Linked DNA regions of Homo sapiens: regions 2, 3, 4, 5, 6 and 7 are each linked to region 1. The links are contacts of gene promoters, found by promoter capture Hi-C in blood cells and fetal thymus (Javierre and others, 2016). All regions are on one chromosome and are shown on one strand. The core of a region is centred on a gene start or on the middle of the fragment in contact, and the rest is flanking DNA. Distances in the headings are between cores, read along the strand shown.

The links. Contacts are between HindIII fragments. The CHiCAGO score rates a contact against its expected background, and 5 or more counts as called.
Region 2: a fragment that was not itself captured here is called in contact with the fragment with the promoter of FECH in region 1 in 1 of 17 cell types (naive CD8 T cells); the score reaches 6.1 in naive CD8 T cells.
Region 3: a contact is called between a fragment that was not itself captured here and the fragment with the promoter of FECH in region 1, in 6 of 17 cell types (naive CD4 T cells, non-activated CD4 T cells, total CD8 T cells and 3 more). The highest score is 8.2, in naive CD4 T cells.
Region 4: a fragment that was not itself captured here is called in contact with the fragment with the promoter of FECH in region 1 in 6 of 17 cell types (naive CD8 T cells, naive CD4 T cells, fetal thymus and 3 more); the score reaches 9.9 in naive CD8 T cells.
Region 5: a contact is called between a fragment that was not itself captured here and the fragment with the promoter of FECH in region 1, in 2 of 17 cell types (naive CD4 T cells and activated CD4 T cells). The highest score is 7.1, in naive CD4 T cells.
Region 6: a fragment that was not itself captured here is called in contact with the fragment with the promoter of FECH in region 1 in 3 of 17 cell types (naive CD8 T cells, megakaryocytes and M1 macrophages); the score reaches 6.4 in naive CD8 T cells.
Region 7: a contact is called between a fragment that was not itself captured here and the fragment with the promoter of FECH in region 1, in 9 of 17 cell types (naive CD8 T cells, megakaryocytes, total CD4 T cells and 6 more). The highest score is 9.6, in naive CD8 T cells.

Annotation. Positions count from the first base shown.
Region 1 is chr18:57,584,607-57,588,576 of GRCh38, reverse strand. FECH (ferrochelatase) reads left to right here and starts at 1,875. Exons shown (of 11, transcript NM_000140.5): 1 at 1,875-2,023. The coding sequence starts at 1,957. RefSeq lists silencers at 1,694-2,053, 2,064-2,123, 2,134-2,183. The HindIII fragment of the contact is 11,690 bases long and covers 1-3,452 here.
Region 2 is chr18:56,604,555-56,608,524 of GRCh38, reverse strand. The region is part of intron 7 of TXNL1 (thioredoxin like 1); the gene reads left to right. Among named protein-coding and RNA genes, the nearest start is that of TXNL1, 32 kb to the left of the region's middle. The HindIII fragment of the contact is 1,071 bases long and covers 1,813-2,883 here.
Region 3 is chr18:56,626,441-56,630,410 of GRCh38, reverse strand. TXNL1 (thioredoxin like 1) reads left to right here. Exons shown (of 8, transcript NM_004786.3): 2 at 3,954-3,970. Among named protein-coding and RNA genes, the nearest start is that of TXNL1, 10 kb to the left of the region's middle. The HindIII fragment of the contact is 7,386 bases long and covers 1-3,970 here.
Region 4 is chr18:56,646,881-56,650,850 of GRCh38, reverse strand. No RefSeq gene overlaps it. Among named protein-coding and RNA genes, the nearest start is that of WDR7, 2.5 kb to the left of the region's middle. The HindIII fragment of the contact is 3,586 bases long and covers 365-3,950 here.
Region 5 is chr18:56,664,848-56,668,817 of GRCh38, reverse strand. All of the region lies in intron 1 of WDR7 (WD repeat domain 7), which reads right to left. Among named protein-coding and RNA genes, the nearest start is that of WDR7, 15 kb to the right of the region's middle. The HindIII fragment of the contact is 642 bases long and covers 1,505-2,146 here.
Region 6 is chr18:56,682,022-56,685,991 of GRCh38, reverse strand. It overlaps WDR7 (WD repeat domain 7), which reads right to left. Exons shown (of 28, transcript NM_015285.3): 5 at 3,139-3,313; 6 at 1-36. Among named protein-coding and RNA genes, the nearest start is that of WDR7, 33 kb to the right of the region's middle. The HindIII fragment of the contact is 3,226 bases long and covers 521-3,746 here.
Region 7 is chr18:56,700,882-56,704,851 of GRCh38, reverse strand. The region is part of intron 12 of WDR7 (WD repeat domain 7); the gene reads right to left. Among named protein-coding and RNA genes, the nearest start is that of WDR7, 52 kb to the right of the region's middle. The HindIII fragment of the contact is 2,236 bases long and covers 1,504-3,739 here.

The sequences.
Region 1 (3,970 bases), core at 626-3,125:
AGCCATTGATTTTGTACTGGTGAGACTTGGCACCTTTATGCCTTGTCACTAATCATCAGCGTTTGCCTGGGAGGGACCAGAAGCCCCCTTATCTCTACCCAGCAGGAGGGCCCAGCACCCTGGATGGAGGGGATGACTTTCTCCAGGGCCTCCCAGAGGGGACAAGAAGAGCCTTCATAGCTCAGACGTCTAACCCCCCCGGCCATTTTATTCTCTGGCCTTGTCTACATGTCTGCCAGCACAGCATTGCGAGGTGTGCAGCCTTTCAATTTAGTTTCTTTAGAAGAAATGGGCTCAGGCCGCGCATGGTGACTCACGCCTGTAATCCCAGCACTTTGGGAGGCCGAGGTGGGTGGACCACTTGAGGTCAGAAGTTCGAGACCAGTCTGGCCAACATGGCAAAACTCTGTATCTACTGGAAATACAAAACAAACAAATAACAACAACAACAACAAAAATGGGTTCAGACTGTAGGTAGAGAAGTATGTTATCCATGAAGATCACCTCTTTACAGGGCAACTTAAGAAGACTATAATTTTTTTATGAGGGTAGAGAATAGCCACACATATAAGGAAGGTGGGTTGATACCTGGAGCAGGTTTTACTGTGCTTTTCTCAGGACATCCGCTTGGATATGAAGATCATGTAGGTAATATGAAAGGCTATCCATTTAATTTGACATTTTGCATTGGGCTTATAACCATCAGGAGGACCAACTTTAATAAGAAATAAACTAATTCCATCAGTAGCACATATTTAAGCTACAGAAAACTGGGTTTCAGCTGAATCTAGACTCCATCTTCCCTGAATGTTCCATATGGCTTGCCCCCTTTGCTCAAATGTGTATAAGGCCTTTGCTCGAATGTGTGAGACTCTGACCCACCTGCTTCAAATTGCATTAGTCCCTTCCCCCACCCTACCCCATCTCTTTTACCTTGCTTCATTCTTCTTTTGTCCTGAGAGGGAAAAAGAAGAGGGGAGGCCGTGGAAGGGCTCCATCATTCAAAGTATTACATGTTGTGATTATTTTCTGTGTCTCCCCTAACCCCATGTAAGCCCCCGTCTACTCTTTTCACTACTGTTTTCCCAGTGCACATAGTAGGTGCTCAATATTTGTTCAATGAATACCGATGCCTGAGACCTTTCTGTACCAAGGGCTGGTTTCCTACTCCACAATGCACTGAACATATATAGGCAGGGTGGGCTGACGGAGGTGTAGGAATGAAATGGGCGCCTGTTCCTCCCAGTGATCTCAGTGTGCGACCTTGGGGGCGGGACGGGCGGCTAAACTGGGAAGGTGCGCGGATATGATACAGACAAACCTCATCATACCGTCCCTCCAAGAAATGCACTTGCCAGGCTGGCCTTCACTTTTCCTAATGCTCTTCAGTGAGTTTCACCTGTCAAATTCTGCTACACAGAGAGGGTGCAGAGAAACTGAATAATCCCTTTTTCTATTCTGAAAATAAAGCAAAACAAAACAGGATCTGCACACTTGTGTTGTGACTAGGCAGGCAAACTGGAGAACTGAGGCAAAAGCATCCTTATATCTAAATAATAGTAATGGAAACGTCGAAAAAAGTTATTTGCTGAGTCATGGCTGAGGATCCTGACTTCGCTAGTTTGGCAGATGCAAACAGGGCACGCAACTAGGAGTCCAGCAGGTTTTGCAGTGACCTGCGATGGTGGTGGGGAGCGGGCTTCTAGCTCAGCCCCCGGGCCCATTTTCACGCAGGGAGCGGCGCCCAGCTGGGGCGGGCTCTCCGCGAGGGGCGTGTCTCTGCCTGGCCTCGCCCGCCCCGGCCCGGCAGCGAATGAGCGGGCGCGCCGGGAGGGCGCGAGGTCAGGGGGCTGGGGACGCGCGTGGGGATCGCTACCCGGCTCGGCCACTGCTGGGCGGACACCTGGGCGCGCCGCCGCGGGAGGAGCCCGGACTCGGGCCGAGGCTGCCCAGGCAATGCGTTCACTCGGCGCAAACATGGCTGCGGCCCTGCGCGCCGCGGGCGTCCTGCTCCGCGATCCGCGTAAGTGGGTCTGTCGCGGCGGCCGCCAGGGCCAGGATCCCTGAGAAGGCGTGGGCAGAGCGGGCAGCTGGCGCCCGGGCCCTCGCGCCCGGGGGATTCGGGGAGCGGCCTTGGGGGTGCTGCGAGCAACCGGGCGAGGGGCGTCGCGGAGAAGGGAGGGCTGAGGGCAGCACTCAGGGCTCGGGAGGCCGCGGGGAGGGCGCCCGGATCCAGGAGGCGCAGGTTCAAGTCCCATCGGTCGGCTGGGTGGCTTGGAGCAGTGGCTGGAATTTCCCAGAGCCTTGGTTATTGTCACCTGCAATAACCAGGCTGTTGAGAAGATTACGCGAGGGAAGGTATGTTATGGGCCTGCCATAGAGGATAGTAAGGAAGGCATCTTCATCATCACCACCATGGACATCTGCCCTGCAGTTCCCTCCCTGCTGAGGAAAGCCCATGGTCCTTGGTCCCTCTGTGCCCACTTCTCCTTAGCAGCGGGACCCCCCGTGGGGCAGCCTGGGCTAGCGTTTTCTAGAGATATCTGGGGAACTTGTAAGACCCAGGAACAGCCTCCCACGTTTCTGATGCAAACCGTGAATAGGTTGTGACCACAGGATGAGCTGATGGGACTGTGGATCTCACACACCTGGCTGGGACAGCATTTCCAACTGTGACACCTTGAACAAGGCACCTAACCTCGCCAGAGCTTTGGTAAATGTACATTGAAATCCTAATTTTTTTTTTAAGGCTTGCCTTGAACATGAGCACCTTGCCTGGCACACAGTAGTACACAGGCATCCTCAAGATGTCTAGCCATTCATGCAGAAGGCTGCCACGAATAAGATGCTTATTCAATGCATCCGAACGGTGACTGGACACAGACCGGACATATTTTTCTAAGACGTTCGTCAGTCTGACACCTACTTGGAGTGGAGGGAATCCCCTCTGAACCTCCATATCTCATTAGACGTGCCTTTGTTAGGAAAATACTAAGGACCCAGTGTACAATGAGGCTAGCTCACTAAGGGCGCTGGGGGACAAAGGGCATTGTTTTTTAAGAAGAGGCAGCACAGTGCCAGTCGTGGGGCTGAAAGAAGTATTGAACTAATCTTTTCTTTCACTGACCTTTCCTGTGGCAAATAAAGTCTGACAGGTCCTAGATTTGAGGTCGTGGAACAATATGTGAAACTTTAAATTATTTGTAGTCTAGGTTAAAAGTGGAAAGATTCAGAAACGCTAGCAGAAGTAGATTTGGAGTCTTATTTGTGTTACAGACTTTGATTTGAAGGCATAGTTATAATACTTCATCATTTTGGTTGATAGGAAAAGATCAACTTCTGTGTGAGAAAACACTGAGGATTATTTCCGAAAATGAGTTCTGAAAGTAAAAGTGGAAAAGCAAAGTTTTATACTTTATGTATTTAGCATATTACAGAATTAATAAGAAGCTTCCGGGGGTGGGCCATATATTATCTGTCTGTTTAGCTATCTATATGAATTATTTTTTTTCTTGGTGCCTTTTTCTTTCCAAACTTTAAACGTTTTGTTTCTTTTGTTTTTTTAAGAGATGGAGTGTTGCTCTGTCGCTCAGGCTGGTGTACGGTGGTGCCATCATAGTTCACTGCAGCCTTGAAATCCTGGGATCAAGTGATCCTCCCGCCTCAGCCTCCCTGGTAGCTGGGATTACAGGCATGATCTAGTGTGCCTGGCCCCCCAAACATTTTTTTTCACTGAGCATATATTGTCTTATGTAATTAGAAAAACAATTCTAGGATAATAAAAGAGTTGTAGGGTTTACATAAGAGACATTAGAACATTTTGGCTCCATATCAGCAACTAACCAATATTTTGAAGCACCCACTATGTTTATTAATAGTTATAATATAGAACCTTATTTCTTTTGTTAATTTTAAAAACGGTGCATATTTTATAAGTACTTTTGAAGTAATCCTCATCTCCTATGTGATA
Region 2 (3,970 bases), core at 1,099-3,598, 980 kb after region 1:
ATAATTTGAATACCATAATCTACTCCCTTGTTGGTGTTCTGGGCTTCTTAGCCCCTTGCTTTTAATGTTTAATAAATTTTAGTTGATTAAGTGATTTTCTTAGGTATATTAATATTGCATTTTCTTGTAATATTTCTGAATGACATTTGTACTGTAGTTATTCTTTGTCTTTTAGGGTTATTCTTTAAAAGTAAGCTAGTATTTCATTGTTTTTATATTGTACAAAGTAACAACTTCAATGTAGTTAAAAAAAGAAAAAGAGGGTTTACATGTAACTGAAATTGGCCAGCTTAGTCCTTGTACAGATAGATTTGCTTATTAAAAATTATAATTGAGTTTGGTTTTCATTGAAGGAAATAATATGTGGTATGGTATCTTTTGTCCCTGTAGTACGATGCTAGTACAATAGTCTCTCCTTATCTGTCGGGGCGGGGGGATACATTCTTAGACCCCCGGTGGATGCCTGGAACCACAGACACTAACAAACCCTGTACATACTGTGTATTTTCCTATACAGATGGTTCCCAACTTATGATGGTTCAAGTTTACAATAGTGCAAAATTGATAATGCACTCAGTAGAAACCATTCTCTTAAGTGTGGGGCAGTTAAGCATTTTTGACTTACAATATTTTCACCTTACAATGGGTTTACTTATTTTTATTTTTTTGAGATGGAGTTTCACTCTTGTCACCCAGGCTGTAGTGCAATGGTGCGATCTCAGCTCACTGCAACCTCTGCCTCCCGGGTTCAAGTGATTCTCCTGCCTCAGCCTTCCAAGTAGCTAGGATTACAGGCGCCTGCCACCATACCCGGCTAATTTTTGTATTTTTAGTAGAGATGGGGTTTCACCATGTTGGCCAGGCTGGTCTCAAACTCCTGACCTCACTGCCTTCCTTGGTCTTCCAAAGTACTGGGATTAGAGGCATGAGCCACCGTGCCTGGTCTTTACAATGGGTTTAATCGGGATATATTACCCCATCGGAAGTCGAGGAGCATCTGTACATATATACATACCGCTGATAATGTTTAATGTATAAATTAGGCACAGTAAGAGATTTAACAACAAAGCCAGAGCATGGTGGCTCATGCCTATAATCCCATCACTTCCGGAGGCCAAGGCTAGAAGATCACTTAAACCCAGGAGTTCAGGACCAGCTGGCAAACATAGTAAGACTCCATCTCTATTTAAAAAAAAAAAAAAATTACCCATGCAAGACGGTGGGTGCACCTGTAGTCCCAGCTACTTGGGAGGCTGAGGTGGGAAGATCACTTGAGCCCAGGAGTTCAAGACCAGCCTGATAAACATAGTAAGATTCCATCTCTATAAGAATACACACACACACACACACACACACACACACAAAATTACCCAGGCAAGGTGGTGGGCACACCTGTAGTTCTAGCTACCTGGGAGGCTGAGGTGGGAAGATCGCTTGAACCCTGGAGTTCAAGGCTGCAGCGAGCTAGGATCACGCCACTACACTCCAGCCTGGGTGACAGAGCAAGACCCCATATCAAAAAGAAAGAAAAATAAAAAAGATTAACACCAACTAATAATAAAATAGAGCAATTACAACAATATACTGTGGTTAAAAGTTGACATGGATATGGTCTCTCCCATGCTTGCTCTTTCTCTCACTGTCTCAAAATATCTTATTGTACTGCACCATAGGCAGTTGAAACTGCAGAAAGTGAAAGCATGGATAAGGAGGGACTACTCTTCAGTCATGATCTCTGTCTACAGCAGTTTATATTCTTGTAGATAACATAGGGACAAACATAGGGAAAGTTAATCAAAATTAATCAAAGCTTAGTTCAAGGGTTTCTTTGTCCACAGAGTATTCTCAGACGTTACCAGCTAGGTGACTTTTCCTTTTCCCCCAACGACTGGGAAAGTCTGAGAATACTTTGTGAAGAAAGAGGGCCTTGAACTAAGTTTTGAGAGTAGAATTTGGACAGTTCAACAGGCAGCTATGGGCACCCTTGATAGAATGGAAAAGTAGGGACCTGGACATGAACTTAGGAAGGTGGAGGATTCAATCGTTCAAGGACAAGTCACATGTGGCATGTCTTTTCTTTTACTTGTTTGCTCAGTCTGAATTAGTATATACATAGTAATTAGAATTGAAATTTTTTTCTTTTTTTTTGAGACGGAGTCTTGCTCTGTTGTCCAGGCTGGAGTGCAGTGGTGTGATCTCGGCTCACTGCAAGCTCTGCCTCCCGAGTTTACCACATTCTCCTGCCTCAGCCTCTGTAGCAGCTGGGACTACAGGTGCCCGCCGCTACGCCTGGCTAATTTTTTTGTATATTTAGTAGAGACGGGGTTTCACCGTGTTAGCCAGGATGGTCTCGATCTCCTGACCTCGTTGATCCGCCCGCCTGGGCCTCCCAAAGTGCTGGGATTACAGGCGTGAGCCACCATGCCTGGCCTAGAATTGAAAATTTTGAAATAGATTTGGCATATATTTTATAGGCACAGGGAGGAAAATTTTGATGACCTCTGTGTAGTGAAGGGCGCTATATAAAATGGCTTAATGAATAATAAAGTAGATCAAATGTTTAGCATTTTCAGTTTATATTTTTATCTTGTGTGAGCTGTTTCTGGATAATTTCCGTTTTTAGTATGTCACTGACTTCTTATGTCACTAAGATATCTGACAGAAGCTAAGGTAATGCTGTTGAATCTCCAATGTGGACAGAAATCTTAGACAACCTTTCATGCTATTACAACTTTGAAGGTTAGACTTTTAAGGTTTGACAGACTAGAATACCCCTTCCACTTGTCTGGTTTTGGCTCTTATAGGCATCACGCACAGATTATAATCTATACTTTGGCTGTTTGTTGTTGTCAATGGATTTTTTGTGTTGCAGCATGAAAAGCTTGCCATTGCCATCTTAATTGGAAGTAGATGTTTTTGCTAAAATATGCTCTTTATATGGATTGCTTTATTTTAATACAGAATTTTTAATTACAATTTTATAAAAATACAAAAATGAGAAAATTATAGGGGCTTCTGCTTCTTAGGAAATGAGGTGCATGTGAAAAGATTTTTATCACTATAATAAAAATAGACTTTTCTAAACTGGCCATTCACCGTATCAGCTATTTTTGTAACATTTCTGTCTGTTTATTTTTCAGCTTTTTTAATCCAACTCAAATGAACTAAAAACAGAAGATATTTTAAAATGAAGTAATATAAAGATTGACCTTGTCTCACTCTACTCCCCTCCTTGCTTCTCTGCTCATCTAGCACCTGTCTGCTCTCACCCTTCCCATGTTCTCGCCATTGTTGGTGCAAGATTTCTACAGCTTCTATCATCTGGATCAGCCTTGTTACCTAGGTTTCCTCAATCATCTCTTTCTTCAGATCTCATCCTAGTTGTGTTTCTTAATTGGCCTTTTATTTTGTTTTGGCTTTTGTTTTGGGCTTGCAACTAGGTGCTTTAATTTTTTACCATACCGTGTTGCTCACTAGCCTTTTTTTTTTTTTACTTTCTACTGTTTCATATTTAATTTTGTATTACATTTTGAGGCATAACATCACAATAAAATTAAATTGTTATAAAATGTTTTAGATTTAACTAGTTGAATAGTTTTAATCCATTCTAAACTTTAAATTTTATTTCCTAGGAACTATAGAATTCTTTTGGAAAACAAATATAGCAGTTGCATCAAGTTCTTTTATGTTTGTGCTAGTTTAATATATTGATTACATTTCAGTTGAGGGGTGTTGGTTTTCTTTTCCTCGTTGGAATGTTAGCCCCAAAGTCCTTTTGATGATTGATTGGGGCATGTCCTCTGCTTTTGCCCAAGTGAGCTCAAAACCAGTTGAAGGACTTATGGACTGAATATTAGGTTGGGTTAACATATTAATATAGAAGATCAATGGACTCTTTACTGAATAAATATTTTTTACACCTAATTTTTATGTACCTAAATTTTGGTTTGTCTGAGGTGTAATATAAAGA
Region 3 (3,970 bases), core at 393-2,892, 960 kb after region 1:
TTGCATTTTCTCCTGTCCCTTCCTTAATGGCAGCCCCACTGGCTCAGAGCTCCACTTCAGTCTGCTTTGTCACAACACCTGTAAGCATCATTTCCAGTTGATTTTGTTCTTTTCAAATATTCCCCAAGGTCGCTTCCAGCTCTGAGCCACATGCTGGGATGTCCATCTTTTTCCTGAATCCTAGTTACTGTCTTTTTTTTTTTTTTTCTTTTCCAAGTTGGAGTCTTGCTCTGTTGCCCAGGCTGGAGTGCACGATCTTGGTGACCTTGGCTTAACTACAACCTTCCGGGTTCAAGTGATTCTCCTTCCTCAGCCTCCCGAATAGCTGGGACTATAGGCATCCGCTATCACGCCTGGCTAATTTTTGTACTTTTAGTCGAGATGGGGTTTCACCTTGTTGGCCAGGCTGGTCTTGAACTCCCACCCTAAAGTGATCCACCTGCCTTGGCCTCCCAAAGTGCTGAGATTACAGGCATGAGCCATCATCGGGCCCAGTCTGGTTACTATCTTTCTTACTGATCTTGTTACAAAATTGCATGGGTTTCAAGTAGTTTGCCAACAAACTTATTTTTCCCATAAATTCTCTCTTTTTGGTGTGTGTTTTTGCAGGAGGGTGGTTTTCATGAATGGATATATTGTACTATAGAATGGATACCTCTGTAATTTGTGACACCTGTGTAAATGCAGTTAACACTAAATTCTTCTCAACTCATTTAATATTTTAAAATGAAAATACCTATTCATCACAAAAAAGCAAAGGATGCAGAATTATGGATACTAACTGTTCATTGTGCCTGTCTCTGTCTTTTTACCCCCTATGCATTTATATATATACATAGGTTTGAAATGTGATCCTAGAGAACATTTTATAATGAGACTTTCTTCCCCCCTAAACACTGCAAAGTATCAGGCTGGGGTGCAGTGGTGTGATCTTGGCTCACCGCAACCTCCGCTTCCCGGGTGCAAGTGATTCTCCTGCTTCAGCCTTCTGAGTAGCTGGGATTACAGGCATGCGCCACCATGCCTGGCTAATTTTTGTATTTTTAGTAGAGATGGGGTTTCACCATGTTGGCCTGGCTGATCTAGAACTCCTGGACTCAAGTGATCCGCCCATCTTGGCCTCCCAAAGTGCTGGGATTATAGGCGTGAGCCAGCGTGCCTGGCCCCTGTCATAACTTTTTAAACTAGTTTTCCATTAATTGCCATTTAAGTTGTTTTCTAACTTTACTATTACAAACATGTTACATTGAACTTCCTTATACTACATGTTATTGTGAAATAGAGTAAGTGTTGTTAAAATGGAATAGACTTTCAAAAGGGCAATTATTGGGTCTTGGCTTGTGTTCATCTAAAATGAATAGATATGACCCAATCAGTGGCCTTTGAAAAACAGTGTAGTGATATATATTCCCATTTATAAAGTTTAAGACTAATTTTAGTTGACTGTAAATATTATTTTCTTAGATTTTTGGTGTATGGCTTTCAGGATAACACAAGGTGAAATGCTGATTGAAATGTTAAGAATGTGGAGTTGATCACAACTTGAGTTTTAACATTTGTTTTTATTTTGTGCATTAGATTTGCTTTTTCTTGCATTTCTTATTTCTGCAAACTTTTATTGAGACATACATGGCACACAATTAGAAATGTATAGTTCAATTAATTTTCACAAACTGAACACACCTATTTAATCAGCTTCCAGACAAACAAAACATTGCTAGCCTCCAGAAGTCTTATTCTATCAGTAACTCACTAAGGTAACCATTGTCTTGATTTCTGATACCATTGATTGGTTTTGTCTGTATTTGAACTGTATGTAGTCATATAGTATATGCTAGTAGTTGCTTTCTTTCCTCAATGTTATTTGTGAGGTTCATCCATGTTTTTGCAAGAGGTTTTATACCAGTTATTTTCATTATTGTGTAGTATTTCATTGTATAACTATAATTAGCTTACCCATTCTTTTGTTGATAAGAATTTAATTGTTTCTGATTTTTGACTCTTAGAACTATTACTAATAATACTTTTTCAAATGTTCTAAGGTGAACATGTGTCTTAGATGTATTCCCCAGGAATTTTGATGGGTTGGTGTATTTTAGCAGTTTGGTTTTTTTCCCTCCAAAATGGTTAATACCAGCTTGCACTCTCACAGTATATAAAAGTTTAGTTGCTCTGCATTCTTGACAATACTTAATTCTTCTTGTAGCTATTTTTGCTGAGTTGGTTTTAATCTGCATTTCCCGGGTATCCCTGATGACTAATGAAGTAGAACATCTTTCCTGCTTTATAGAAAGTTTTTGACTTTATTTATTGACTGTTTGGATAATCTCATTTGTCAAGTACCTATTCAAGGGTTCATTCTTTTTCTTTTGGGTTTCAGTCTTCTCCTTGTTTTGTAGGAGTTCTTTACGTATTAGAAGTATAAGTCCTTTGTTTGATATGTTTTGCAAATACTTTTTCCTAGTCTCTTAAAGACATTTTTTGATGAATAAAAGGTTTTAATCTTCCAGTTTATCAAATATAGTCCAGTCTGTCAAACCTTTTTTTTTTTTTAGTACTTCTTGTGTTTTGTATAAGAAATCATTGCTTAGTTTGAGGTTTTGAAAGTGTCTTCCTGTATTTTTTCCTAAAACCCTCCTTGTTTCACCTTTTACATTTAGATCTACAACCCATCTGGAATTGGTTTTTGTGTATGGTGTGTTGAGATTCATTTCTTTTCCTGTATGAGTATATAGTTGATCTAGCAGTATTTATTGAAAAGACCATCCTTTTCCCACTGCAATGCTACATCAAGTTTTTCAGACATCAGAGTACTGTATGTGAGATGGGTCTGTTTCTAGACTCTTCTTTCAAAGGAAAACTGATTTGATCATTTTGCTTATTCTTGTACAAGTACTATATTCTCTTAATAAAGGTTTATGATAGTTCTTAAGATCTGATAATATAATTTTTTCAGATTAGAACCTCAAAACGACTTGGGCTGTCCTTGGCATTTCTCTATAATTTTTAGAATGGAAATTTGTTAATTTCTACAAGAAAACCTGCTGAGATCTTACATCAGTTGTAAAGATCAAATTGAGTAAAATTGGTATCTTGGCAATATTGAGTTTCAAATTCATAAGCAGAGTAAATTCCTCCATTTATTTAGGTTTTCTTTAATTTCTCTCAGTGAGAACAAAGCTAGAAGACTTAACACTATTAGTTATGAAGACTAAATGTAACATCTGGGCTCATTAAGACAGTATAGTATTGATACAAGTATATGTAAATAACTTACTCAAATAGACCAGAGAATCAGGCCTAGGGTTATGGTTCATGCCTGTAATGTCTGCACTTTGGGAGGCCCAAGGCAGGAGGATCACTTGAACCCAGGAGTTTGAGACCAGCCTGGGCAATATAGTGAGACCCTGCTTCTCAAAAAAAAAAAAAATGTAGCTTGGTAGCTGGGTGTGGTGGCATGCACCTGTAGTTGCAGCTACTTGGAAGGCTGAGGTGGGAGGATTGCTTGAGCCTGGAAGATTGGGACTGCAGTGAGCCATGATCATGCCACTGTACTCTGGCCTGGGTTATAGAATGAGACCTTGTCTCCAAAAAAAAAAAAAAAAAAAAAAAAGACCGGCTTGGTGGCTCACGCCTGTAATCCCAGCACTTTGGGAGGGGCCAAGGCAGGTGGATCACCTAAGGTCAGGAGTTCGAGACCAGCCTGGCCAACCCAGTGAAACCATGTCTCTACTAAAAATACAAAAATTAGCTGGGCGTGGTGGTGGGCGCCTGGAGTACCACTCTGGCCGACAGAGTGAGACTCTGTCTAAAGCAAAAAACAAAACAAAACAAAAAAAACAGAGAGTCAAAAGCCAGCAGTATCAGTGTTTGTTCTATTTTATGTTTAATTGACGAGTGCTTTAGAATTACAATCTTTAGTGTTATTTTACTTAATTTTCCTTTTCTAACAGGTGTGGGCCATGTTTGA
Region 4 (3,970 bases), core at 908-3,407, 940 kb after region 1:
GGATAATCACATTAGGTCATATGGAAGTCTAGAAAAATTGGTCAGATTTGGAATAATAATTGGGAAAGGAAAACAACTTTGTCACCAGCATTGAAATGTAAAACATGAATATATGCAATAAATAGAAAGTTAAATTTGGAAGAAATACAAGGGACGTGAAGTAGGTGAAGTGGGAAAATGTGGTATCAGGGCTTAGCTGTTTCTGCTCCGTGAGCGGCTCCTTTAACAGGCAGTCTATGCCCTGGAGCTCTCTTGTGGGTTGATAGAGACTTCATCACATTCGGCCTAGACCAGGTAATAAAAAAGTAACATGGAAAAATAGAATAATGTAGATAACAAGAGGCTTTTAGTGGCCATATAAGCTTTTTGGTCTTTATTCCAAAGACAATGAAAAGTAATTGAAGACTTTTGACTAATAAATAGTGTAGCACTTTTCCTAACCACATGGTATTCAGGTTTTTAAAATTGCTTTACAACAAATTATCACAGTCTTAGTGTCTTAGTGGCTTAAAGCAACACATATGTATTGCCTCACATTCCATGGGCAAGGAGGTCAGGAACAGGTTAGCTGAGTCCTGTGCTCATGCTCTCACAAGGCTACAAGTGGATGTCAGCCAAACTGCAATTCTCATCTGGAGGCTCAACTAGGGAAGAATCTGATTCCAAACTCCTGTCAGCTCATTCAGTTCCTTGTGGCTGTCTGACTAGGGGCCCTGGCTTCTTACTGGCTCTGAACTGGAAGTGGCCATCAGGTCCTAGCAGCCACCCACAGTTCCTTACCACATGGGCCTTACTAAAGGCTCTCTCGCAACATGGCAGCATACTCCTTCAAAGCTAGCAAGGAGAATCTCTCTACTGAGCACAAGAAAGGAGTCACACAGATATAGATACAGCCATGGATATGGACATGGACATAGATATGGAAATGGATGTAGATGATAACCTAAATTAGGGAGTGACAGCCATCACCTTTGCCATATATTATTGGTTAAAGTAAGTCACGGGTTTTATCTGTACTCAAGGAGAAAGGATTATACAAGAGTGTGACTTATCGGGGTCACTTAAGATGGGCCAGCCACAAATATTAATTTGGCAGCAATGTGCCATGTAAATCAGGTGGGAAATACAGGGAAGCAAGGAGACAAGTGAGATGTCGTCATTGTTGTTGTAACCAAAAATGTATGGTTATCACTGCAAAAGAATCATAAATGAGACCCACAGGATAAAATCGGGAATTTCACCATTTTAGAGGCATATATATATATATTTTTTGAGATGGAGTCTTGCCCTGTCACCCAGGCTGGAGTACAATGGCACCATCTCAGCTCACTGCAACATCCACCTCCTGGGTTCACGCAATCCTCCTTCCTCGGCCTCCCGAGTAGCTGGGATTGCAGGTGCACACCATCACACCTGGCTAATTTTTTTTATTTTTAGTAGAGATGGGGTTTCACTCTATTGGCCAGACTGGTCCCGAACTCCTGGCCTCAAGATTGGCCTGTCTCGGCCTCCCAAAGTGTTGGGATTACAGGCGTGAGCCACCACACCCAGCTTTAGTGGCATTTTTAAAACTTAAGTACTACTCTGTCCTTAAAATTTAGTAGCAGGCTGGGCACAGTGGCTCACGCCTGTAATCCCAGCACTTTAGGAGGCCGAGGCAGGCAGATCGCAAGGTTGGGGGTTTGAGAATTTAGTAGCAAATTACCCTACAGCACACCAGTACCTTCTGGACTTCTTAAGCTCCAGGTTAGCTCTGCAAAAGGCAAGGAGGCTTGTTCTTCCATTTTACAAATTTCAAAAGAGGGAGATAGCCCAGTGGCCTAACAGTGACTTTATTGCTACTGTTATTTTCGGATCACTTCATGCATGCTGTTATTTTTTTCTCATCGAGGTTTTCAGTCGTAGTTTGGTATTCCCCATGGTGCCTAGTACTCAGCTAATACTCCCCTTTCCTTCCTGGACCCTCTCCCAGAAAAGTCCTATCATGGTCGATGGCTTTATTTTAATACCAAATGGCAAAGAGGCTTAATAAGGGTTTTTTGCATGATTTTTGTGTAATTAAAACTGTTTTGTGCAATTAAGAGATTCCTTTTGCACTTTCTCACATGACATAAAAGTCAAGTGTTGATACTTCTCTTTTTTTCCTGTCTCATGACTTCCATGATTCAAACCATTTCTTTCCAAGTAACAAAATGTCTTTTTCTAGAAACATCTCTAGTTACTCCATACTCAGGCCTTTTAGGAAGGAGTGAAGGTGATAAGGTTTAGGGTGTTAAGCCTCCTCACAAATGAGGGTTTCACAGCCCCCCTCACCAAACCAGCAAGACTAGCAAGGGAAAATTAGAATAGATAATGAAGGAGGAGCTGATAAGTCCTAGTGGTAGCCCTGGTCACCAACTGCAGCAACAGGGCTGTAGATCGTCTACTAACCTCCCTCTTCTAGGTTTCCCATAAGGAAGAGAGGGTGACCAGAAACCTGGAGGAGTTGCTCCCCAAACCTGTGTAGAGAAGGGAACTCATTTTTGTGTAAATAGTGGACTATGGGAGACACATGAAGCACCACCCAGATTCCCCTTCAAGAAAGAACCACTTCCTAGCTGCAAGGAGAGTGGTTTGCTCACACTCTTGCTGTTAGCTTCTTCAGGGTCACCTGGGCTTTCCAGCTGAGATCACACTAATCTTGAGGCAGCCTCTGATGAATGACTGAGCAGGGTGAGGAAAGTCCAGGGCACATTCTTCTTGGGGAGGCCCCTGTTCTAGGGGGTGGTATCAAGGCATAGGAATTTCTGCTCCCATGGGGGACTCCTTTAACAGGCAATCTTTGTACTAGAGCTTCCTCTTGGGTTAGTAGAGACTTTGTCAGATCTGCTTTTTCCCTTCCTCGGCCCAATCCTGCTTCCTCCCTTTTCCTCTCACAGATGTGAGAGAAATAAACCTTTTGGACTCCTCACTCCATCTCAGCATCAGCTTCCCAGAGAACCCAGCCTGCACCATGACACCATTTTTAACAATTGACAATCAGGAGCTGTCATTGTACTTTTGCAACTTTTCCCTCAGTTTTTTTTTTTTCCGTATAAAAAGTTGGAAAAAAAGAAACAAAGATTAAACTGATTTTTACTGATTTTTAATAAAAGAGAGACATCAGACTTATCAACCCATGCAATGCATGTGTCTTATTTTGATATTGATTCAAGTAAGCTATAAAATAAATTAGGAGAAAAATGGGAAATTTTAACCGAGTGGATATTTAATGATATTAAAGAAGCCTTGTTAACATATTAGAATGTAATAATGATATTTCGGTTATGTCTTTAGAGGATTCCTCATCTTCCAGATGTGCAGGCTGAAATATTTATGGATGAAATTGTCAGATGCCTAGCATTTGCTCCATGATAATCTGAGGTAAGGAAGACAGTGGCAATAGCTACCTTAACTTTACTTCCATCTTCATGAAATAGTACATTCTTTTACTTCTAATTCTAATTCATCAAGGTGAAAAACATCACTTATTCACCATCCAGTGGTTTTAGGCACTATGCTGAGCTACACATACAGAAAATGCAGAGACTTGGTTCTTGTGGTCAAGTTACTCAGTCTGGCAGGGAGGCAGGGAGACAGGCAGACCCACTACTGTGAGGAGTGATGTACCTGGTGCTTTCCACCAGTTGCCATGGGGCTGATCCTCCTACTGACCTTGTAATACTAATGTTCTGAATTTTGATGGGAAATATTGTTTTTAACATTGTGTGAAAAGCCACTTCCTTATTGTACAGAAACCACTAACATACATTTGACTTTTATTGGATTTCTTCAGTATCTGGCCCTCAGATGTACTCAGATATTCAGATATCTGCTACTTAAGAATGGACTGAATGATGAGCGTGTGTATGTGTTACGTGTGTGTTTGCTCAAGGGCATGCCTGAGAGAGGGCTTTGAATAAAGTGAAGCTTCTGTTAAGAGTTTTATCAG
Region 5 (3,970 bases), core at 576-3,075, 920 kb after region 1:
TTCCAACAGGTTAATACCTTTCATTGACTTTCTGCCAAAGTATAAAAGTATTACTGTGTATGCTTGTCAAACAACTCAAATTGTGCAATTGTGCAATGCAAATATAACAATTTAGTTCTGCATTACTTTATTAGAAATAATACTACCAACTTCCATCCCAAAACTAAAATGGCTTTCAAATAAAATTCCAAACTCCTAATAATTAGTATACATTTTAGAGCAGCATTTCTCAGGTTTCTAGTTCATGCCAATGCCATGGTAGGTATAAGTATTACAATAATAAATAAAATAGACACAATTCAGCTATCCAGTGGGGCTTACATACATGTAAACAATTACCACAGAGCATGAGAGAAGTCTCAAGACATATGGAAACACAAAAGATGGATTCCCTAACCTAGACTTCAATGGGTCCAGGAAGGATTCCTAGAAGAAATGATGACTAGAATGAGTAGGAATTAACCGGAATAGGCTCAGGTAATCACATGTTCTAAGGGCCAGAGGTGTAATCTCAATTCTTTCTAAACAGTAAATAGTAGGGCTGACATTTAAAGTAAAAAGGCAGAATGGTGAAAAAACAACCAATAGCCAACATGCATCAGATCACAAGGGGCTTCTTGGTAAGACATTTTCAAGAGTTTGGACTTTAATTTGACAGCAAAGGGAAGCAGGTAAAGTGCTTTAAATCTGACATTGCTTTTCAGAAAGATCACTCAAGCTGTGATATAACAGAGAGGGATAAAACTGAGGACCTGAAGACCAATGAGGCTACTGGAGTTCTGCAGAAGAGAAATGGTGGTGCTTAAATTTATCACAATCTCTTATTACTTATTTCTGGGGCGTCTCTGTTAATGGCTGTCTCCACCACCACTCTTTCAAGCTCCCTGGTTACAAGATGCACACTCTGTGTACTCACTACCAAATGATGCTTAGCACAACATCTACCACATAGGACATCTTTAATAAATATATGGTGAAGGGTGTTCATGGTGAGAATAGTACTAATAATAATACTGATATGAGAGCTAAAGATATAATAGATAAGACTTGATTTTCAACACACCAAGGTGATCAGGATGCAACATGGATTCTGATGCAAGTTTCACACAAAGGTACTTTGAGGATAAAAGAAAAGAAAAAGCAGTTTTAAATACTGAAAGCTTTCTAAGTAAAGGATGGGCATTATTATTACAATACTGATGCCTAGGGAAGTATCGACAATTTAGATTCCATCATGGAAGATAAATTACTCTATGCTTAACCATAATTTATTAACTCTAGGTTTGGGGATGAGAGAAAATACAAGGTTCCACACTGATCTTCAGTTGGGCCACATTGTAAAGATACTTAATGGTCCAATAAGCAGATATCTACATAGAGAAGCAACATGCTCAAACTTTTTGAGATAGTATGAGGGTTGGATTACCACAGAGAAACAACTAAAGACAGATAAACCAAATATGATGCTACTGCAAAAAGCCTGGGTGCTAAGTGAGAAGAAGCTTAGCTAAAGTTAGAGTACTGAAAGAAAAATAGGAGACATTACAGAGGAAGAACAATAAGTCATGGGGTTTGGCGAAATACGTAAGGCCACAGGCAAGAAGACTATTGCTTTCCAAACTGGGTGGTAAGGAAAGAGGTAGGAGGGAAGCATAGTGAGGCAGAGGAAGGAAAGAGAGTGCAATGACGCTAAAGAGGAATCTGGTCTCTAAAAAATTGTAACTCAGAAAGTATTTTCATAAAATGATACCAGAGACCTCAACAAAACTGTTCTGAATGGTAAAAAAGCAATGAGCTTTTGCCAAACCAAGTCATTTCAAAAGTTTATGAAATAACGCTCTGTCTCCTGCTGTTTTGCTTTTATTTTTTATATTTAAGCATTTAAAAAAGAAACGCTTTTGTAATTGACAAAAAAAAAAAAAAATAGCCTGGTTTCCCAATCCAGAATGGAGAGTATAGCTGGTTACCATCCAGGGGATTTTTTATTTGGGTGGATATTTAGGTCTGTTAGCAACTCTCTCAAGATCACACATCAAACTGATCTCAGAGCTCAAAAGCAAACACAGATCTCCAGGGTCCTAATGCAACACTTTTCACTCTCCTATATTGTCTTCATTTACCACAAAATTCCATTTATCAGAAAGCTTCATTATCCAGGCATTCTGGTTAATCAAGATTTTGCCAAAACACAGTACTCATTAAAAGATAAATGGAACTGCAGTGTTTACAGATAAAATCATATGATGTCTGTGATCAGTGGCTCCTGGGAGAGGAAAGAGAATATGGGCTAAGTGGTGTTAGAAGGAATGAAGATGAGGCCGGGCGCAGTGGCTCATGCCTGTAATCCCAGCACTTTGGGAGGCCAAAGTGGGTGGATCACCTGAGGTTGGGAGTTTGAGACCAGCCTGACCAAATGGAGAAACCCCGTCTCTACTAAAAATAAAAAATTAGCTGGGCATGGTGGCGCATGCCTGTAATCCCAGCTACTAGAAAGGCTAAGGCAGGAGAATCGCTTGAACCCGGGAGACGGAGGTTGCAGTGAGCCAAGATTGTGCCGTTGCACTCCAGCCTGGGCAACAAGAGTGAAACTGCGGCTCAAAAAAAAAAAAAAAAAAAGACGAAGGAATGAAGATGAAATAGTATCCTAAGTATGATGGATGCTATGTGCCCAAATCTTCCTTCAGGAAGGAAGGACCCAACTGGTGAGAGAGCTCCCAGCAGACAAGCCCAGGTTGTCAGCACCACTAAGGATTGCCTCAGCCCAAGAGAGATGGCTTGTCCAAGCTCTTGTACCCTTCCCATGGGACAGCCCACATCCAGTGACGGATCAATATGGAAATATAAAGGCCAGACCCCCTCACAAATCAGGATATCACTGAAGGGTCATCCCATCTTCAGAACTTCCCCCAGGGTCAACTGAGACTCCTCTGAGACTCATCACGACTCAACTTTAACCCAGGGCCAAACTATTTCCTTTCCCTGGGTGTTGATCCCAAGAGCACTCCCTAATAAGCCTGAGTCTCCATCTCAGAGTCCGCTCACCAGGGAACTCAAACTGTGAAAGTAAGTATCGAAGCTCTTTTTAGTGCAAGAGTGTGCATTATACTGTTCTTTCTACTTTTATATATTTGAAAATGTCTATAATTTTTAAAGGGTACCTGGAAAGAACTTCAATGTCCACAAATCAGGGATTAAATAAATTATGATAGAGCTTTATAATGGAACACTGCAGTATGAGATATAAAACAAACACCAAAATATACAGTGGGTACACACACACTTTGAATAATTCTGAAATGATAACGTACAAAAAAAATCAGTAATATGACTGCCTTTTAAGAGGAAGACTAGGAAGAGGAGACTGGGCTGAGTAGAATTCCTAATTCTCAAGATAAATTCTTGGGTTTTTTGTTTGTTTGTTTGTTTTTGCCCCATCATTGTGTTTTCCATTATAATACAGTTAAATAAAGTGGCCTAGATACACCTACACCAAGTTCTTCTTCTTCTTCTTTTTTTTTTTTTTTTAGATGGAGTTTTACTCTTGTCACCCAGGCGGGAGTGCAGTGGTGCAATCTCGGCTCATTGCAACCTCTGCCTCCCAGATTCAAGGGATTCTCCTGCCCCAGCCTCCTGAGTAGCTGGGATTACAGGCGCCCGCTACTAGTCCTAACTAATTTTTGTATTTTTAGCAGAGACGGGGTTTTGCCATGTTGGCCAGGCTGATCTCAAACTCCTGACCTCAGGTGATCCACCCGCCTCACCTCCCAAGGTGCTGGGATTACAGCCATGAGCCACCATGCCCAGCCACACCAAGTTCTTTTGTTTTAAAGTTGTACATATGCACACAACATGGCGTTCTGAACATACATTTAACTTTAACAAGTATTTATCTTTAGCCTATAATATTTTCAAATGCTAGCTCCCTTCCACTGTGAGTGCCCTGTCCTAAGCCACATGATTTACTACTCCT
Region 6 (3,970 bases), core at 884-3,383, 900 kb after region 1:
GGATGCCAGTCACCGAGAGTGCTACCACTGTGTCCTCTAAAATGAGAAGGGACAAAAAAGCAGCCCAGGTTACGAACATAATACGCTTTTTCTAAATATTAAGATGTTTTGCTTGAATAAAATTAAACAATAGCATGTTTTACAATTAGCAGAAAAACATAATTCTCTATTTCATGAAACAGAAACCAGGTTTTGAAACACAAGTTAATAAAGATGGCCAACAACTTAAAATTCAAGGAAAATTATTTCTAGCTAATTGAATTTTTTATTTCTAATCAAGAAGTTTTTAATAATTTCAAATGTTCTTGATTACTATGTTAACAATGAACTTATACACTTCAAAATTTACAACTTCTAATTCTTTATCATGGATGAGCTCAAGCACTTCATTTCTTCAAGGCACAAATTTCTCCCCCTTTCCCACATACCTTGCCACCTTCCAGATACTTCATTGCACATTACACCCTCCCCAGAGTGTGATCAAGAGAAAGATATGATATAAAATCTAAGTTCCTAAGCTTCAGGTAAGGGACTAGTGACAGCACCAGGGTCACGTACAGGAATTTTGAGAGGATGAGCATTGGAAAGCAGTCAACGTAGGCTCCAGAGTGAAGGAGGGGAATGTTAAAAGCAAAATCACATTTTTCTTCACTAATTAACCAATGAACTTTAGATAACAAACTATCTTAAATACAATTTTCTTATCTGGAAGCAAATATAAATGAATAACAACAGTACCTATCCTAATGGGTTGTTATAAAAATTAAGACACGCCAAGGGAAAACATTCAGCACATACTAAATTCTCAATAAAGTTGAGTTATTACTGTTATTTAAAAAATTGTTATCTTTAAATAAAAACCTTATCAATATCACATAGTTCTCTAGGCACTGTAAGGCATTGAAATTAATTGATTTAAGTTACAGTCTATTCTGTTCAGACTACAGTGTAAACATATATAAAAGGAGTATAAAAATTTTAAATAGGCAAACCGCTTGGTCACAAATACAGATCTGTTTTAAATAAAAGATTCATTGTAACTAATATTAGAGATAAATATATGAATGATTAGTTCCCTATTGCCTGGAAAATTAACGCAAATCTCATTCTCACTGTTATGCTTAGGAATAAAGCAGTAATTCTCTAATATGCATAAAAAACCTCTCTGAGAAGGTTCACATTAGAGAAGCCTGCTGAATTTTATTTTACCAAACATCTCCCAAATATATTTAACCAGAGATCCCACCTTTTTGACAAATACCTATTAACAAACTTCAGAACCAACACTCTGAAGAACAGCGGCAGGAAATGAAGCCAGTGCATCCACTATTCCGACAGTCCACTTTAGTGCAGGCCTGCACCACTCTCAGCTGGGCAACTAATCTCTTAATTTCCTCCCATCTTTGAAGTTTAAAGCATAAGTCCCTTCAGAGACTGCCCATCATCTACAGTGAGAGCCTGCAAGCTACAGCTCATGAGTCAACTCCAGCCCACTGGCTGTTTTTGTAAATAAAGTTTTATCGCAACACAGCCAGGCTCAATCACTAATGTATTGTCTGCGGCTGTTTTTGTGCTAAAACAGCAGAGTTGAGTAGTTGAAACATGGACCATATGGCCTGCAGAGCCTAAAATATTTCATATCTGGCCCTTTACAGTATAAGTTTGACAACCCCTGATCCACAAAGTGAATTCCCTAGCTGATACACAGGGCTTTCAAGACCTGTCTCCTGCCAGCTCTGCCAGCCTTATATCCTGCCACTCCTTCCCTCATACTTCTTGTCCCAGAAAAAGATAATCTATAGTTTCACATATACACCTATCATAATTTTAATGCTTTTGTACCTACAGACTATCTCCTTTGCCAGAAACATCCTGATCGCAGGTCTGCTAAACTCTTTCTCATCTTCCAAATCCTAGATCAGACTTCATCTGATCTGGACAGCCCTCTACTGCCCTCAATCAGCCTCACTGCCATCCTCTCCATACTATTTTTCCATCTTGCACACTTTGCACTCTAAACTGTTATTTGTTTATATATCATTGTCCTTTACTAGAATTTGACTCCCTTAAGTATTAATATTTCAATCCCTTGCACCTGGAAGACTGTAGGCATTCGATAAATATTTGCTGAATGACTACTGAATAAAAAGCTATGTGCTGATTTTCCTACCCTAAGAGGTTACAAAGCAAAAGCTCCTATAAAGTTGAAGGCAATTCACTAATGGGAGGGAAGCAGTGTAACACAGTGGTTAAAGTAACTACTCCGGGGTCCTTTAGCAAAGATGGCATCACACTAACTCTCATCATTCTCCTCATCTATATGATGAATATTAACAGTACCTACCCCACTAAGTATTGTGAGAATTGATCATATGTAAATGCTTAGCATGGTGCTTGGTAGTGTAAACACACAGTAAATGAAAGTCCTCATGGTGATGGTGCTGCTGATACCGGTGGTAGTGGTGGTGGTTATTTACTGGCCTCTATAGGAAGCACATAACTATGAAGCCATTTGAAAGTAAAAGAATGCTCCTTAAAAGGCTTATAAAAGTAGACATTCAATGTTCTGCATTAACTATTACTCTTTTCCTGACAACTTTACTTTTGCTTTTATGGTTGTTATTAAGAGGTTTCAACAAAAATGAAGAAAAGATAATAATATTTATTGAGCATCAAGTACATATCAGCCCCTTCCAGGAACTTTCATTAAATTTAACTGTGTATAATCTCTCCTTTTTCACTGTCCCCATTTGAAATGGAAACATTCCCTATGCCTCTTAAGCAAGTGACAGAACCAGGCCCCAGAAATATACAGGTAAAACTACAGCTCTTCCCAAAGGTAAAACTACACCCCCAAAGGTTAAGCTATTCTTCCTCCACTTCAGATAATCACCCATATACTCTGTCAAAAGCTGATGATCTATACATCATGGAATGGAGATAAGCCAACAATTAAGTCTTCATTCAATCAAAGATTTCTTTATGAAGGAAGAAACAGACCATAAATTATTGGTGTAGTTATTTCTTACATAGAAGAATATATCCCAAAGTATTAATTTATGATAAATTGTAGAATGTTCTAGTAAACTAAACATTAAGTCATGGTGCTAAAGCTCCTAACAGGCATAATACACTGACCTTGTGTTCGGTGGGATCGAATAATACTCATGGAGCTAATCCAGTCTGGTGATATCTTTGATACTAAGGAGTATAATACTTCAAGGCTGGTAGCATCCACAACAAGGATTTCAGGGTAATGTCCGTGGCATAAAAGCCTTCCTTCTCGCTGATTCCCAACAGAGAACTGGTAGAACTACATTCATGCCAAAAGGAAAAAAGATTTCTGAGTGTTCTCCTTTAATTTAGATACTTGATTAATATGCATTCATCAAGGTTATTACAATATTCTCCTAAAGCTCAACTTCTTCGGTAAGAATTTTAGATATTTACCAAATGGTACATATTATATGGGTGTATGTGCACACACATATATTAAGTTATATTAAAATTTTTAAATAGCTAACAAAAATTATTTTCCTAACATCTTATCCTCCCTTTTGAATTATTTTGAAATAGAATTCGTGATAATTGTTTTTATCCCCCTCTAGCATCTAAAACAGAACTGTTGAATAAATTAATAAAACACCTGAATAAAATCAGCTTTACAAATCACATCAAAAGGAAGCTCAGGTGGGTCACAAAAATAACATGAATTTCAAATAAGTAGAAATAGGGAAATATAAGCTTATAATTACTAGTTATGCAAATACAATTTAGAAGGATGATTGATGTTCAAACATAATCAGGGCCTCAGCTTCCTTATATGTAAAATGATATACTCCTATTTAATATGTAAGGGTGTCAGGAGGACTAAATCAAACACAATACAAGAAATGCCTACACTGTATCTGCTCAATAAATGTGAGTTACCTTCTCTTCCTTTCCCATTGAAATCATAATTGATCATATT
Region 7 (3,970 bases), core at 1,372-3,871, 880 kb after region 1:
TCACTTCTGACCATTATTAAAAGTAAATTTCATGCCTAATCAGCAATATGATTTAAGATTTTAAGGAATCTTTCCAAAATGTAAGAATTTCTAATTTTTTAAAATGTTTGGCATGATATCAGCACAGTCAGCTAAGGATGCAGTCTTTCTCATTACTGTTAAAGGGGCCTCTCACTGCCAGTCCCTTAGCACTGAGTTTTCTGGCCTCCTACACAAGAGACAGGTGTAAGACATTAAATTGCAGTTTTGCCATTAAAATAACAAAAATTACTTGCACAACCTAATATTTGAATGTATACATAATATTCATAGCATGACAGGGTCTCACTCTGTCACCTAGGCTGGAGTGTAATGGCGCAATCATGCCTCACTGCAGCCTTGAACTCCAGGGCTCAAGCAATCCTCTCACCTCAGCCTCCCAAGTAGCTAGAACTATATGCCCATGTCACCAAACCCAGCTTTTTTTTTTTCTTTTTTGATAGAGACAGGGTTTCACTATGTTGCCCAGGCTGGTCTTGAACTCCTGGCATCAAGTGATCCTCCCAGCTTGACCTCTCAAATTGTTGAAATTACAGGTGTAAGCCACCATGCTCAGCCTCAACTTTTTATCTTTAAACAATAGTATAGAATAGTAGTACAAATTTGGAAAACATAAAATTATCAAGAATATAAAACCAACCAGAATGTACAACTAATATAGTATTGGTAATATTAATACATTTGTGCTTTAAAATGAACGTGAGAGCTATAGTTACATATGCTCTACATACAGCTGCTTTCAAGACTAGAAAATTAGCAAGGCTTAAAAGATTATAAACAGGATGATGAAGGATTACGGTAGTAAAATGGTGACTGTACAAACCTATTCCTCATTGTTTGAAGAGCAATTTGACAATACCTGTTCAAAAGCCTTTAAAAATTAATATGCCCTTTTTTATAGCAACTCCAAGTATAAGAACTTATCCTAAGAAACCATTCTAGAGCTACAAAAATATTTAGCTGTACTAATTATCATTCCCACCGTTGATAACAGGCAAAAAAAAAAACTTTAAAGCAACATTCTAAAATGTCCAATAAAAATGAATTACAGAGTATCATTTAAAATGATGTTGTAGGAATATTCTTAGTGACAAATATGATGTCTTTAGAAAATATCTCTATTTTCTATAACTATGTATTATTTAATTTTTAAAAATAAAATTAATATCAAAAAGATGGTGCCAAATACATAAAAATATATGAAAATGTTCTCAAAATCAAAGAGAATTAAGTGTTAAAGGAAAAAGGATGACACAGAACATTATGTACATTGTATTTTAAGAAAATAATGTTAGTTCTGCTTCCTGTTTTTGCTTAGTTTGTATTCACAAAGTTTGCTCTGCTTGACTTCAGATATTAAGCTATAGGTATAGACATTGCTTTTTAAATGCAATATTCAAATTAAATTAATAACAAAAATCTAGAATCAAAAATGGGAGATAAGAGCAAATTCAGGCAAAAGCTTTCAGTACTTTGTCAGAATAATAGTATGATATATTAAAAAGAATATCTAATTTGTCAATTGCCCTTACTGGCTGTGAACATTAGCCACACTGGTATACACACAGTCACGTGTTCCATTCATATTAGCATACCTGTTTCTAGGAGCCGGGAATCTAATACTGGTTTTAATACTGTCAATTGAAGGCACAAACACTAGTGTTCAGGTTAGATGACGCACATTCCTGTTTTCACAAATCCATGCTGCCCCCTTCTGGGTATTTTTGGAGATTACGTGACCAAAAGTTTAATATGATAAATTAAACAAAAAGTATTCATTCTTTAACTAATATATTAAAGAACTTAGCCTATATGCTTACATGTAGAAACATATCACTGGTACTAAACAGTTTATTTTTCGGCATTTTCGAAAACTTCTGTTCTGAATAATTCTAACAACAGAAAGACAGCTCTGAGAATTTAATCGTCAATGTAAATGAGGAAAATAAATAGTAAATATTAAATAGCTATAATACTAAAAGTAAATAAAACATGACACTTTAATAAGTTTCCCTACTCCTTCCTCTCACTCTCAAAAGTAAACCAGGGTCTGAATTTGGCACTAGCTTTCCCTTCGGTTTTAATATTTTTACTACCTATACATGTATCCAAAAATATGCAGTATGGATTTGTGTTTTTAAAATGTAAATAAATGGTATCACACTGTATTACACACACAAAGGTTTCATACCACAAACTGTACTTCTAAATCCAGCTACCTACCACAATTGAAAATCAACTAAGAAAATATGGATAGTTTCATGTAAAATATCACCACAATTCAATAAGTTGGCAATATTATACTGGGTGATTAGTGTTATTTTTTAATTCATGAATTTTCACTGCTGTCAATCATATCTATCTGGTTTGTTAAGGAAAATGTTTTATAACGTACTCTTGATATATTAAAATAATTTTATTCCCTCAGTATTTTTTCCAAAACCTAGTTTCTTTCTCTAAGAGTAACCTATGTGGAAATACAAGAAAAAGTGCCTGGATCTTGGACAATAGACTCTTTAAAGCTAAAATCTATAATAAAAGGAGAACGATAAGCAACAGGGAAAGGTAAAATAAACTGGGAGGGAGGTGGAAGGGACGATGTCAGATCATCTCATCTGTAACTACATAATTCTAATGATGGAGCGTTGGAGGAAGTTTCCTGCCGCAGCACTCCAAAGGCATTAAAAATATCTGCCTTCCCTTTCACCAGCTCTCTTCAGATTCCCCAGGCAACTGGTACACTCTTGGCCTCCCCTATCCCAGAGTTCAGATTTTGCTAATTCACCCAAGTCTACCTCTCACAACTACTCCAATCTGAAAATCATTCTCTCTCTAACCACGCTGTGTTGTGTAAATTTTGTAGTTGTCAGAATAAAATTAAGCTAATATTCTATAGTTCTGAAGCATTAAAACACTGTAAAATTGAAAATATCTGAAGGATTAATAAGACATTGCACTCAAGGTTAAGGGAACCAAAAAGCTGGAGAACAGGAGAGAAAGGGAGACTTGCACTTCCTTAGTAATATTTATACCTTTTGCATTTTATACTATGTGCATCACTACCTATTTATGAAATATTTTAAGGTACCATAGTAAACAGTCCAAGTACAGATGAAAAGTTAATAGCCCAGTTTAAATTTTAGCTGTTTTTAAAAAAAAGTTTCTAATACATCTCCTATATCTAATATTTGAAGTGGCAATATAATTTAATAACAACATAAAAAGCTCGAGTTTAAATTTGAATCCTATTAAAATTCATAAGAACTGTCACATCTGAATAGCAATAAATCATGAGAAAACCACTCATTTAAAAATAATAAACATAACTTGGAATGATAAAAATGGTATAGGACTTTATATCTGTCATATAATTTTTATACTGTGAACAGCTTTATTTCAAGCAAATGATATATAGTAGTTTGTTTTATCAAGAAACTGAACCTTTATATACTCTTAAAAAAACAGAAATGGCAAATAACCTAATATTAGAAACCTCAAAACCACAGATTCCAACACCTCTCAAGAAGTCAATATGTAGTTAGTCAAACCTCTCAGGTCTTTTCAAGTAGTTTACCAAAGCTCCTTGTTTCTCTGGGTACCTATAATACGCCCTTGCCATCATCACCAAAACATTTGTGATTTATAGTCTGCCTGTACCAGGCTTAAATACTTACCTTATCCTCCTTCTAAAATGTAAGCTTATATTTCTTGGAACATTTAAACACATTACTTCCTCAACTGTTCTCAATAACCCTTCAGAACTACACAATCCTGAATTATTTCAAAATTTTATATCTTAAAGGGTACCTTCAGATTTTTTAATTTTCTTACATTTTAATTCTTTAAAATAATCCGTATCAGGTAAAAGCTAAATATCAGTTAACCAGACTATTCAACGAATCAATACTGAATTTCAAAGATCTTTTCCTAA